Linked DNA regions of Homo sapiens: regions 2 and 3 are each linked to region 1. Evidence: promoter capture Hi-C in human tissues and cell types (Jung and others, 2019). All regions are on one chromosome and are shown on one strand. The core of a region is centred on a gene start or on the middle of the fragment in contact, and the rest is flanking DNA. Distances in the headings are between cores, read along the strand shown. Region 1 holds the start of GPR6 (G protein-coupled receptor 6). Region 2 overlaps AK9 (adenylate kinase 9). Region 3 overlaps FIG4 (FIG4 phosphoinositide 5-phosphatase).

What was found. Contacts are between HindIII fragments. The study calls those that stand out against the background at their distance.
Region 2: a contact is called between a fragment that was not itself captured here and the fragment with the promoter of GPR6 in region 1, in 1 of the 25 tissues and cell types used here (spleen).
Region 3: a contact is called between a fragment that was not itself captured here and the fragment with the promoter of GPR6 in region 1, in 2 of the 25 tissues and cell types used here (H1 embryonic stem cells and dorsolateral prefrontal cortex).

Annotation. Positions count from the first base shown.
Region 1 is chr6:109,975,773-109,980,082 of GRCh38, forward strand. It overlaps GPR6 (G protein-coupled receptor 6), which reads left to right and starts at 2,539. Exons shown (of 2, transcript NM_005284.5): 1 at 2,539-2,695; 2 at 3,323-4,310. The coding sequence starts at 3,341. RefSeq lists a silencer at 2,868-3,031 and an enhancer at 2,970-3,775. The HindIII fragment of the contact is 14,463 bases long and covers 1-4,310 here.
Region 2 is chr6:109,620,973-109,625,282 of GRCh38, forward strand. All of the region lies in intron 12 of AK9 (adenylate kinase 9), which reads right to left. Among named protein-coding and RNA genes, the nearest start is that of AK9, 68 kb to the right of the region's middle. The HindIII fragment of the contact is 3,752 bases long and covers 156-3,907 here.
Region 3 is chr6:109,711,965-109,716,274 of GRCh38, forward strand. FIG4 (FIG4 phosphoinositide 5-phosphatase) reads left to right here. Exons shown (of 23, transcript NM_014845.6): 2 at 3,114-3,212. Among named protein-coding and RNA genes, the nearest start is that of FIG4, 23 kb to the left of the region's middle. The HindIII fragment of the contact is 5,896 bases long and covers 1-4,310 here.

The sequences.
Region 1 (4,310 bases), core at 1,289-3,788:
AAGGATGGCTGATCGTATCTAGCTTCAGTTGAGGTGTCAATCTCCTCCCATATACTAGGGTATGTGTGGAAAATTTCATGTAGTTTACAGGCTGAACACTTTAGGAGACCATTGGAAGGGCAGGTGCTTATATAGTAGCTATAGGCAAGGCAAGTAAAGAAGTCCATCTAATTTCCATCCATAACTGATGAAACAGACATATTTTGCTTTCCCATCTTCTACCTTCCAAAATATGGGTGGATATAGGGGAGATAAGGAGGAGTTTGAAAGAACATGCTCTGTCTGCCCAGGACCTAGTCTAGCATCCAAAAGAGGTAACCACAGATTGGCATCACTCAAAGTCAGTCTACATATCCTCAACCATCATTTATGTACATGATTCTACATGTGTTGTCTTCCTCTGGAAATCACTGAGAAATCCATTCTTGGTAATGTTGAAGCCTAAGGATATTCAGAGATCCTGTGGTAGGTTCAATTTTAACCTCATACTTTCTGCTACATTGTGGCATGTGAAAATGGAACATACTTAGATATTAAGGAGGATTCTCCTCCCCTTGGGCTTTTATCTGATCATTTGGAAAATCCTCAGTTAACATGCTGTTACAGTGGTTTGACGGCTCACTTGACAGCTCTGAAATAACATTCTTGACTCTTAGATGACAATCTTGTACCGAAACACAAAACGGCTCTTTTCAGAAATTTAGAACTTCAGCCAAGTTTTGGGTTCAAGAAAATAGTGGTGTGTGGATTTTTTTAAGCTCTCCAAATGGATAAATTGTGTGTAAACTCACTTTCTGTCCAACATCAGCTATTGCACCAAATAATTGAACTGTCATATGTCCCTTGTTCTTGTAATTAAGTTGGCTGCATTGAGGCAGGAATAGTCTGGACTTGGGGGTCATGTTTAAAGGCAGCAACCTAGGGTAAACTTATCCTCCAACCCATGGACAGTCTGAATATCTTTTTTCCCCTCTTTGGAGCTAGAGGCAAAGTGAAGGGAGGAAAGGGTCCACAGGGAGAAGTAGGGGGAGCACTAGCAACAAATGTTGCCAATTTTCACTTTTCCCAGACCATGTGGTCCCTGAAAAGTATGGCTGTGGCCTCTGTGCAATGCCATCATGCCAATGTGCAATCATCTATTTTAGAACCTCAGATGGCATCAACTATTTTAGCTCTTGCCCAGGTACAGCTACTGCACATTCTGGGAGAAGAAAGAGAATAAGAAGACTAATATTCGTATCTTACTGACAAAACAAAACACCTTTAAAACAAAAGGATGATTTATCTGGGCTGAAAATAAAACTCCTGCCTACTGAAGTCTGGTGCAGCTGAGTTATCACGATTTTCGTCCTGTAATTTGTTTTATAGGGTACTAATTAACAGGGCAAAGTCTGAAGCCAAGAAAGTAAATCACATTTTGCTGTTTTCCTTTTCTCTAGCAAGATGCAGACCTGGTCTTTAATTAAAGCGCAAGTTCCAAGGGCGATATCAGCTACCGAAATCGGGAAAACATGGGCCGAAAAGGTCACAGTGAAACCTGCTGTGTAGAGTTCAGAAAAGATAATGGGAAAGAGAGGAATTGCACAGGCAACCTCCAAAAGAAGAGATTGTTTTCCTCAGATGTCCCTGTCTTATCCATCTTTTAACTGCTCCCCATAACTCAGAATTTCTTCCCTGACTCTACTCAACTGAGCATGTACCACAAACATCCTTTTTAAAAATTGGATTTCAGGCCTGGTGAGGTGGCTCACACCTGTAATAACAGCACTTTGGGAGGCCGAGGCGGGTGGATCACACGAGGTCAGGAGTTCGAGACCAGCCTGACCAACATGGCGAAACCCCATCTCTACAAAAATTAGCTGGGCGTGGTGGCGTACATCTGTAATTCCAGCTACTGGGGAGGCTGAGGCAGGAGAATCGCTAGAACCCAGGAGACAGAGGTTGCAGTGGGCCGAGATCGGGCGACTACACTCCAGCCTGGGCGACAGAGTGAGACTCTGTCTCAATAAATAAATAAATAAAATTTTTAAAAAGTGAATTTCTTTTCCCAGATAATTCCTGTTTCGGGAACGGCATTTTTTTTTAAAGGTAGCTACTTTCCCATCAAACACCCCTGTCCCAACCTCCCCCTTCTCCGGGGTTTCTTTTTTGACCTGATCCCTCAGTGATCTTTGACGCTGGGCTTTGCTGCCCGGCAGGTGTCACTCATCCTTCACCCCTCCCCTCCCAGCTCACCCTCTTCGCCGCCTGGTCTCAGGGTCTTCTTCACTCCTTTCTACCTCTCCTTGTCTCTCTCCCATCCCATTCCTGGAAGTTCTGGACTGGAGGTGGTTGCTCTGGCTTCTCCTCCCTCCTAGGACCCTCAGATAGTGTTGGGGGCAGGGGGAGTGCGGCGGGGAGGGCACAGGATGGGCTGGCGAGGAGAGTGAGTGCTGGGCTCGCACCGGGAGCCGGGAGCCTGACGTCACCACGCCCTGCCTGTCAATCTGCAGCGCGCGCCGCTCGCAGCCGCCTTTTCTGCCACCAACTGTATCTCTCACTCGCGGAGCCGGCACAGCGACAGGCGCCCCGCGCTTGCCTCCTCCCCGGCCCGGCCGCCTCCTGCAGGCAGCTGCTCTGTTTGCGCGGGGAGCTCAGCCCGGCGCCCCGCCTCGGCGCCCATGACCAGCGACTTCCAGAAGTCCTGACGCCCCAGGTGAGTGGCCGAGTTCCCAGGGAACTTTGAGGATGTGGGGAGAGGAGGGGAGAAAGATATCCAGGGGACAGGTCTTTCCAGAAGAGGAGAAATGGAGCCAACCTTGACTCCCACCCTCTGCTGCCCCCATACACACACCCTAGTCTCTCCTCCCAGACCCCCTTCGCAGGGGTCTCTGGGCTCCAGGACTCTCCAGGCTTCGCAATGCCAGAAACTTCGCTTTCAGCACCGCGGACAGCGTCTCTGCTGCCCAGCCCCATGGGGATGTCCTGGTCGCGCCGCCACAACCCAGGCGGGACTCTCCCAGGATGACACTCCTAGCTTGGTGCACTCGGGTGCGTGTGCAAATACAGGCAGCCTTGGAGAATTGATCCTTGTGCATGTGAGTGCATGTTGTCCTGGTGTATATCTGCAAAAACTCAGAAGTCCGCGTGGGCATTTCACTCACTCACTCAACAGGTATTTATTTTGGGTTCGCACTTAACCCATGATTCCCCGATTTGCTCTGGGGTCCCAGGGTGGGGTGGGCAACTCAAGTGGGGCAATGCGAGAGGAGGCTCTACGCGTGGGGAAGTTTCCTGGCAGCCTGAAGTGTACACCTGACGCCTGCACTCCCTCCCTATGCAGGGTGCAAATCCGGCCGCGATGAACGCGAGCGCCGCCTCGCTCAACGACTCCCAGGTGGTGGTAGTGGCGGCCGAAGGAGCGGCGGCGGCGGCCACAGCAGCAGGGGGGCCGGACACGGGCGAATGGGGACCCCCTGCTGCGGCGGCTCTAGGAGCCGGCGGCGGAGCTAATGGGTCTCTGGAGCTGTCCTCGCAGCTGTCGGCTGGGCCACCGGGACTCCTGCTGCCAGCGGTGAATCCGTGGGACGTGCTCCTGTGCGTGTCGGGGACAGTGATCGCTGGAGAAAACGCGCTGGTGGTGGCGCTCATCGCGTCCACTCCGGCGCTGCGCACGCCCATGTTCGTGCTGGTAGGCAGCCTGGCCACCGCTGACCTGTTGGCGGGCTGTGGCCTCATCTTGCACTTTGTGTTCCAGTACTTGGTGCCCTCGGAGACTGTGAGTCTGCTCACGGTGGGCTTCCTCGTGGCCTCCTTCGCCGCCTCTGTCAGCAGCCTGCTGGCCATTACGGTGGACCGCTACCTGTCCCTGTATAACGCGCTCACCTATTACTCGCGCCGGACCCTGTTGGGCGTGCACCTCCTGCTTGCCGCCACTTGGACCGTGTCCCTAGGCCTGGGGCTGCTGCCCGTGCTGGGCTGGAACTGCCTGGCAGAGCGCGCCGCCTGCAGCGTGGTGCGCCCGCTGGCGCGCAGCCACGTGGCTCTGCTCTCCGCCGCCTTCTTCATGGTCTTCGGCATCATGCTGCACCTGTACGTGCGCATCTGCCAGGTGGTCTGGCGCCACGCGCACCAGATCGCGCTGCAGCAGCACTGCCTGGCGCCACCCCATCTCGCTGCCACCAGAAAGGGTGTGGGTACACTGGCTGTGGTGCTGGGCACTTTCGGCGCCAGCTGGCTGCCCTTCGCCATCTATTGCGTGGTGGGCAGCCATGAGGACCCGGCGGTCTACACTTACGCCACCCTGCTGCCCGCCACCTACAACTCCATGA
Region 2 (4,310 bases), core at 782-3,281, 360 kb before region 1:
TGTCAATTCTGTTTTATGGATTTTTCTTAAAAAACTGTCAAAGATCTACAATGAACTCAAACAAATTTACAAGAAAAAAACAAACAACCCCATCAAAAAGTGGGTGAAGGACATGAACAGACACTTCTCAAAAGAAGACATTTATGCAGCCAAAAAACACATGAAAAAATGCTCATCATCACTGGCCATCAGAGAAATGCAAATCAAAACCATTATGAGATATCATCTCACACCAGTTAGAATGGCAATCATTAAAAAGTCAGGAAACAACAGGTGCTGGAGAGGATGTGGAGAAATAGGAACACTTTTACACTGTTGGTGGGACTGTAAACTAGTTCAACCATTGTGGAAGTCAGTGTGGCGATTCCTCAGGGATCTAGAACTAGAAATACCATTTGACCCAGCCATCCCATTACTGGGTATATACCCAAATGACTATAAATCATGCTGCTATAAAGACACATGCACACGTATGTTTATTGCGGCATTATTCACAATAGCAAAGACTTGGAACCAACCCAAATGTCCAACAATGATAGACTGGATTAAGAAAATGTGGCACATATACACCATGGAATACTATGCAGCCATAAAAAATGATGAGTTCATGTCCTTTGTAGGGACATGGATGAAATTGGAAACCATCATTCTCAGTAAACTATTGCAAGAACAAAAAACCAAACACCGCATATTCTCACTCATAGGTGGGAATTGAACAATGAGATCACATGGACACAGGAAGGGGAATATCACACTCTGGGGACTGTGGTGGGGAGGGGGGATGGGGGAGGGATAGCATTGGGAGATATACCTAATGCTAGATGATGAGTTAGTGGGTGCAGCGCACCAGCATGGCACATGTATACATATGTAACTAACCTGCACAATGTGCACATGTACCCTAAAACTTAAAGTATAATTAAAAAAAAAAAAAAAAAAACAAAAAAAAAACAGAAAGAGAAATTCCAGAGCAAAAAAAACAAAAAAAAAAACAAAAAAAACTGTCAAAGATATGTTCATAATTTTGTTCATCATAGCCTAGTTTATAGTTGCAAAAATGTATATATCAAAATATAGATAATACATGTGTATTATATATTATCTATATATGTGTATTATATATTGTATATATTTTATACATTATATATAATACACATATTGTATATATTTTATACATTATATAATATACATTTTTATATATTTTATACATTATATATAATATACATATTGTATATATTTTAGACATTATATATAATATACATATTATATTATATATTATGTACATATACATTCCTATAAGAAAAAGAATCAGGAGTCTCCATATGTATACATACACATACATGTACATATATGTATATGTATATACTATAGTCATATATATAGTATATATAGCATACTATATCGTATAGTATACTATGTATATAATAATATGTAATATATATTTGTATAATAGTATACTATAGTATATTATACATCAATGTATAATATAATATTAATATAATATATATTAATATAGTGTTAATATTATATTACTATTATAAATCAGGATAATACAATAATATATTAATATTAAATTGCATATTATATTGTATATTAATATAATATATGCATAGTATGCTATATATGTATATATGTGTATTATAGACATAAAATATATGTATATAATATATAATGTGTATTATAGACATAATGTATACATATATGATATATGATAATATGTATAAAATGTAGATAATATATAACACACATATTATATATTATCTATATTTTGGTATATACATTTTTGGTACATAAACTAGGCTATGATGAACACAATTATCTACATATCTTTGATAGTTTCTTTAGAAAAATCCATAAAACAGAATTGGCAGTTCAAAGGATATGCATGGACTTTAGGTTTGCATATGTATTTCCAATTTCTATGCCTAATGGTTATACTCTTACTAGCAGTCTATGAGAATGTACTTCTCCCATCCTAGGTACACATCGAAATTAGGTGTTTTTAGTAATCTTTTAACTGTTACAATGAGATTGATATGACAAGTCTCTGTTTTTTGGCATCTCTCTATCAGGGAGGTGGTATCCTTTTGCTAATGTTTAATGGCTATTTGTATCTATTATTCTGTGAATTGCCTGTTTGATTTTTTTTTCCTATTGAAGCTTTATCTGCATATTGATTTGTCTTTTTATATTTTAAAATGATAATTCCTTTATCTGACACATATTATGATGTGATGGGTTTAAAATAAGTCCACAAATCTTTTGACACACCTCCCTTCAGAAGGTGGAGCCTAATTCTCCTCTTTAGTGTAACTAGAACTTAGTAGTGACTTGCTTTAAATAGAGTACGATGCAAGTGATAGTGGATGACTTTTAAGACTAAGTCATGAAAAACATTATAGCTTCCTCCTTGATTAATTCTTTCTGAGGGTAGTCAGCTGCCAGGTCATGAGGACACATAAGCAGTCCTATGAAGAGATCTACATAGAAAGGAACTGAGGTCTCATTCATGTGATCGAGCCATCTTCCAGCCCCAGCCTAGTGTCAGATGAGTGCAGCCCCAGATGACATCTTACCTGTAACCTCATGAAAGCATTTAGGACAGAACCATGTAGCTAAGCCACTCCTGAATTCCTGACTCAGAGAGACTATGCAAGATCATAAACGCTTATTGTTGTTTCAAGCTGTTAGGGTAATTTTTTATGCAGTAATAAATGAGAAACACACACATGGCAAATATATACTCAGTATTTTCCTCTGTATGCTGTCAAAAGTTTTACTTTCCTTTTAATTTTTTTCCTTTTTCCTTCTAATTTACACTTTAAATAATCTGAAATTACCTGGATAAAACTTTTTCTTCCCCAAATGATGAACTAGTTAGGAATCTTAGACACACACACACACACACACACACACACACACACACACACACATTTCTTCTCCCACATCCCTCCGTAAGCCCCCAAGAATTAGATAATACATTTTAAAAAAATAATATGCATTATTCATGTTATTATGCTTATGGAACAATTACTCACAATTACGTAGAACATGTTCATATTTCTGTTCCTGCAGGTTTTTTTTTTGTGGGGGTTGCTTAGTTTTCTATATACCTATCAATAATGAATTCCCAAACTCTTCTTCACAAGTATAAATTTCTGCTTGAAAATACATCAGGTAATCATCTCCCTGGAGCTATCTCTTCTGGACCCCTCTGTTCTCCTACCCCAAACTGGATTGGTTATTTTCTAGGCTTCCAGGCCTGCAGAACAACTGACATCATGGGCTCTCCTTCCCCCACCATCTTGGGATTTCCTAACCCTCTTCCTTGTCAGGGATGCATAGATGCCCTTTTGCTTCTGGATCCCATGTCACCATCTTGGTTTAGGCCCCCATTTTGATGCACTACATCCTCTAGTAGCTTCTGACAAAGAATACATGAGAGGCAATTTTTTGTGTGTGTGACTGAAAATGCCCTCATTCTATTATTAGACTTCGTTTGCCTGAATATAAAATTCTAGGCTATCAGCCACTCCCCCCAAAAATTGTCTTCTGGCTTCCAGAGTTGTGGTTTGAGAAGTTCCATGTTATTGGAATTCCCAGTCCTTTCCATGGGACCTAGTTTTCCTCTCCAGAGTCTTCTAGGCTCATTTTACAGAAGCTTCTGGATCTTTGCCCCCATTGTCTTATAATTTCAAAGTGATGTCCCTTCGTGTAGGTCTTTCTCCATCCATTTTACTGGGAATTTACTGTGTCATTTCTATCTGGAAGCATGTCCTTCAATCTGGGAAATTTTCTGCAGTTATCTCTTTGGTAATATTCTTTTCTCTGGTAGCTCCTACAAGAATTCCTATATGGAAAATGAACACCCTAGACTGACTTTATAGTTTCTTTTCTTTTCTATTCTTTTTTCCATTTGTCAGTTTATACTAATACCTAAAAGGTAACTTTAATTTCTATCTTTTAACTCTTCTATTGAATTTTTCATTTGTGTTATATTTTCTTTTTTAATGTTCTTTCATCTTGCATATATTTTAATTTCAAAGGACTCTTTTTGTTTTCCAAATGTTCCCTTTTCTGTTTCTAATATCCTGATCTAGTTTCTGGATTCAATAATTACTCTTATTTTCCAGAGCATGTTAATAATTGGAAGCTTCATTTGCGTGAGTATTGTTTGTTTAGTGTTTAGGTGATCTGGCTTGGCAATTATATTATGAAACTCGTAGTCATCAGAAGGCCAGAAGTGTCTTTTATCCGAAAATGTCTTTGTGTTAACTCATTTTTCAAGGACATTTTCACTTGCTATATAC
Region 3 (4,310 bases), core at 669-3,168, 260 kb before region 1:
TTCCCACAGCATGTTTGTCTGAAAAGGATGTATTTCTCCTTTGCTTACGAAGCTTGGTTTGGCTGCATATGAAATTCTGAGTTGGAAATTCTTTTCTTCAAGAAGGTGAATATTGGCCCCCAATCTCTTCTGGCTTTTAGGGCTTCAGCTGAGAGGTCCACTGTTAGTTTGATGGGCTTCCCTTTGTAGGTGACCTGACCTTTCTCTCTAGCTGCCTTTAACATTGTTTCTTTCATTTGGCCTTGGAGAATATGATGATAATGTGCCTTGGGGATGATCTTCTAGTGAGTATCTGACTGGGGTTCTCTGCATTTCTTTAATTTGAATGTTGGCTTCTTTAGATGGGTTGGGGAATTTCTCATGGATGATATCCTGAAATATGTTTTCCAAGTTGGTTCCATTCTCTTTCTGGTATACCAGTGAGTCGTAGAGTCAGTCTCTTTACATAATCCCACATTACTCAGAGGGTTTGTTCATACCTTTTCATTCTTTTTTTTTCTCTATTCTTGTCTTATTTCAGAAAGCCAGTCTTCAAGCTCTGAGATTCTTTCCTCCGCTTGGTCTGTTCTGCTATTAGTACTTGTGATTACATTATGAAATTCTTGTAGTATGTTTTTCAGTTCTATCAGGTCAGAAATGTTCTCTATGCTGGCTATTTTGTCTGTCATGTTTTATCATGATTTTTAGCTTCCTTGGATTGGGTTTCAACATATTCCTGTAGCTCAATGAACTTCATTTCTATTCCTATTCTGAATTCTATTTCTGTCATGTCAGCCATCTCAGCCAGGTTCAGAACCCTTGCTGGAGAAAAGTGCAGTTGTTTTGGAGGAAAAAAGGCACTTCTGGCTTTTTGAGTTGTCAGAGTTCTTGCACTGGTTCTTTCTCATCTTTGTGGGCTAATGTTTCTTCAATCTTTGAAGCTGTTGACCTTTATATGGCCTTTTTTTCTTTTATCCTATTTGATGACCTTAAGGGTTCGATTGTGGGATCAGGTGGATTCAGTCGACAGGTATTGTTTCTGGAAGATTATAGGGGGCCAACGTTCAGCTGCCAACTCCTGGACTGTGTGCTCTAACTCTGGAATACTCGTATTGGGCTCTGACTTTGTTCTCTGGCTCCTCGAGGTTAGGTATCCGATGCGCTGAGGGTGCCAACGTGTAGTGACTGCTGGTCACTATGCTTTGATGGGTGGTGTCAGCCAAAGCATTTCATGGTGCGGTGGCGGTGGGATATGTCCTCATTCGCATGTGCCAGTGGCAGCGAAAGCATGGTGGCTGCAGCAGGATGCCAGCAGGTGCCTGCCTCCATGTGGGCATTCACAGCAGCAGCAGAGGCAGCATGGCTGAGGGGGCGGGGGAGGCCCTGCTGGTGACTGTGCATGCAGTCATCATGGTGATCCTGTTAGCACAGGGGCAGGGCACTGGTAGGTGCAGGTCTATATACACTCTCTGTGTGCTGCAGGCAGTGGTGGTCACTGAGGGCTGGGGAAGGTCCACTGGCCTCTGTGCATAGTTTCATTCCCATGGCAGCATTGGCACAGGGGTGGGATGAGGACGGGGCAGGCTGGCTCTGTGCCCACCAAGGCTCCAGCTGCAATGGCAGTGCAGCTGAAGGAGGGAGGTGGATTGCACCCCCAACTGCAGCAGTGGCAGGACAGGGTACATGCGCACACGTGCACTGGTAGGGCAAGGAAGACAAAACCCACCTGCGCACACACATGTTGGCAGAGTGATGTTGGAAGTGGCAGTGAGCCTGCGGGAAGCTGCAGTGGAGGGAGGGAGAGGGTGGGCTGCTGGGTGGCCATGGGGGCCACCCCACTAGAGCTCTTCACCAATCAGGTGCCAGTCCACCAGCACAGGGTCTCTGATGCAGGCCCCCAGGACACCTAAGGCTTCCCTGCAAGCAGGGCTGGGGCCCTGGGAGAGAGGTCAGCAGACCAAGGGGTGCTCAGGTTGACTGTCCAGTCTGATGGGCAAGAGCGCCCTGCAGAGTTCAGGTCCGACAGTTCCCCTAGGGCTAAAGTCTCCTATGGGAACAAGTCAACCCTAGGGGGATGAGTGTCCCTGGCTGTGCTCCACTACAAACGCTCCCATACCAAACCCTCTGGGCTCTGCATAAGCCAGCGTGTTGCCCCTACCACTTCTCTGAGCAGCTCTTCCTGCCAACTCGAGTGTCTGTGATGGTCAGGGAGTCTCCTTCTGTCAGGATTCCAGAGGCCTTGGCGAGAGTAAGTTTCTCCTTACCAGTTCAACTCACCCATTCCCCCAGAGTCACTGGGGGCCAGGAATGAATGCCAGTGCATGGTAGTCCCATGCAGGGTTCCCAGCTTCTTCCCTCTTCAGCCCAGCTTCTGTGTCTTCCCTCCACCACTCTCAGTGCCTTCCCTCTGAAGATCTGTTAGGAGTGCTCCAGTTGTCCTGGTCCCTTGGTGGCAGCTGTTCCGCCTGGCTGCCTCTAGTCAGCCATCTTGCCCAGCACCCCTTCAGTATTTATTTAATAAGACTAATGTGATTGTGTTTAGTCAGAACGCTCCAAGGAACTGTTTTAGGAAAGAAAGAATGATGATAATTTCTTGTAGCTTATCTATAAAAGGTCATTTGGGAAGGACAACCATTTTAATCATTTATGGGACTTTTGGGTAGATTTTATAGTTACTATATTAAAGACATTTGCAGACATTTATGAAAATTTGTAAGTAGTTTTTTGATAAGCTGTCAGTACTTTAGTAGCTATAATTGCCTAAGCGTTCCTAATTATATGTTGAGCTTTAGAATTTTTACCAGAGCTTCTTCCTGGTAAAGCTTAAACATCAGCCTCCAATCAGTTAGATTAATCTCTAAATTTATGACAATTAAATTCATCTGACCTGGTTACTGGGCACATTTCAGACATCAGACTGATCTTTATCATGAAACCACTAGGAATATTTTAATTTTAAAATTGACCTTTTGGAGTCAGCTTTTCTTTAATCTGCCAGTTATACATAACAGAAATATTTCTTTAAAAAGTAACCTGACTTTATTAATGTATTTAATTTCAAAAACTAAAGTGGTATAAAATGTGTATAGGGCAAAATGCTTTGATAAACTAATGACATTCCTTTTTATTTATAGAGATACTTTCTAGTTGGGAGCAATAATGCAGAAACGAAATATCGTGTCTTGAAGATTGATAGAACAGAACCAAAAGATTTGGTCATAATTGATGACAGGGTAAGTATCCTCCAAACCTGACTGCAAAAAAACTTTCATACCTGTTGTTTAAAGGACATGAAATATCCTTACAGTTTTTAGTGATATATTATTTTTATCATAAATCTAAAAGTTTCCGTTATTTTTCTTGGTTGGCTAGAATTTGAATCTCCAATCTGATTTCTAGAAATCACTGGTGTCAAGAAGTACGCCAGAATTATACTTTGCCCCTCGTTTTGACTTGTTTTCGAAAACACACTCTTAGGATAAGATAATGAGTATTGTTTCTTAAAGAGGGCTGACATTTTAAGGATTCAGTGTAACTTAATATTGTATCTGCCAAAGAGACGATCTGTTATGGTTCTTTAATATCAAGCTACTTGAAGTCAGGGAGGACTTCTATGCTACAGACTTTATTTTCCTCCTAAAAATCACCTCTAGGACCTTTACTGATGATTTGCTATACACTAAGGAAATGTTAAGCTGTTCTTATCCAGAGTTAGATTATCCAGAGTCAAGAATACAGAGGCTGGAATTCAGATGGCACAAAAACCTGAAGCTGTTAGTCAAAAGTGAAATACTATATGGTGGTTTGAACAGTTAAGTTTAACTGTTCACACAAAAGAACTCAAGTTATCTTTTGTGTTGAAATTCCTGTCTGTGACTATTTCGGAATCCATAAAGATTCCTGGTTTCTCAAATATGTAGTAACTACAGTTTGGAATCCATTTTCACTAAGCTACTTGTAACAAAACTATTTTCTGTGTTGTAATAATTTTAGATAAATTCTTTGTTACGATTTCCCATGCTACTCCTGGGGTCCATTCTGCTCCCCACCTATCTGAGCATTTTTAACAATATAATGTAATGGTTCTTGGCTTTATTTGGAGATCGGAGCAATTGGTCAGAGAGCCCTTTGAAATGTTAAGAAAATCTATGGGCCTTCTCGTTAAAGATGCACATTTACTCAAAATTTTGCACATAGTTTTAAGGGATTCATGGACTCTTGAAATTTACCTGTAGATCCCTTAAATCTCTGCATCTCTGGTTTAGAGTATAAGGTTTGGACATTTTTTTTAGTATAGCAGCATGATCCAATAACCAACCTTAATTGCTAAT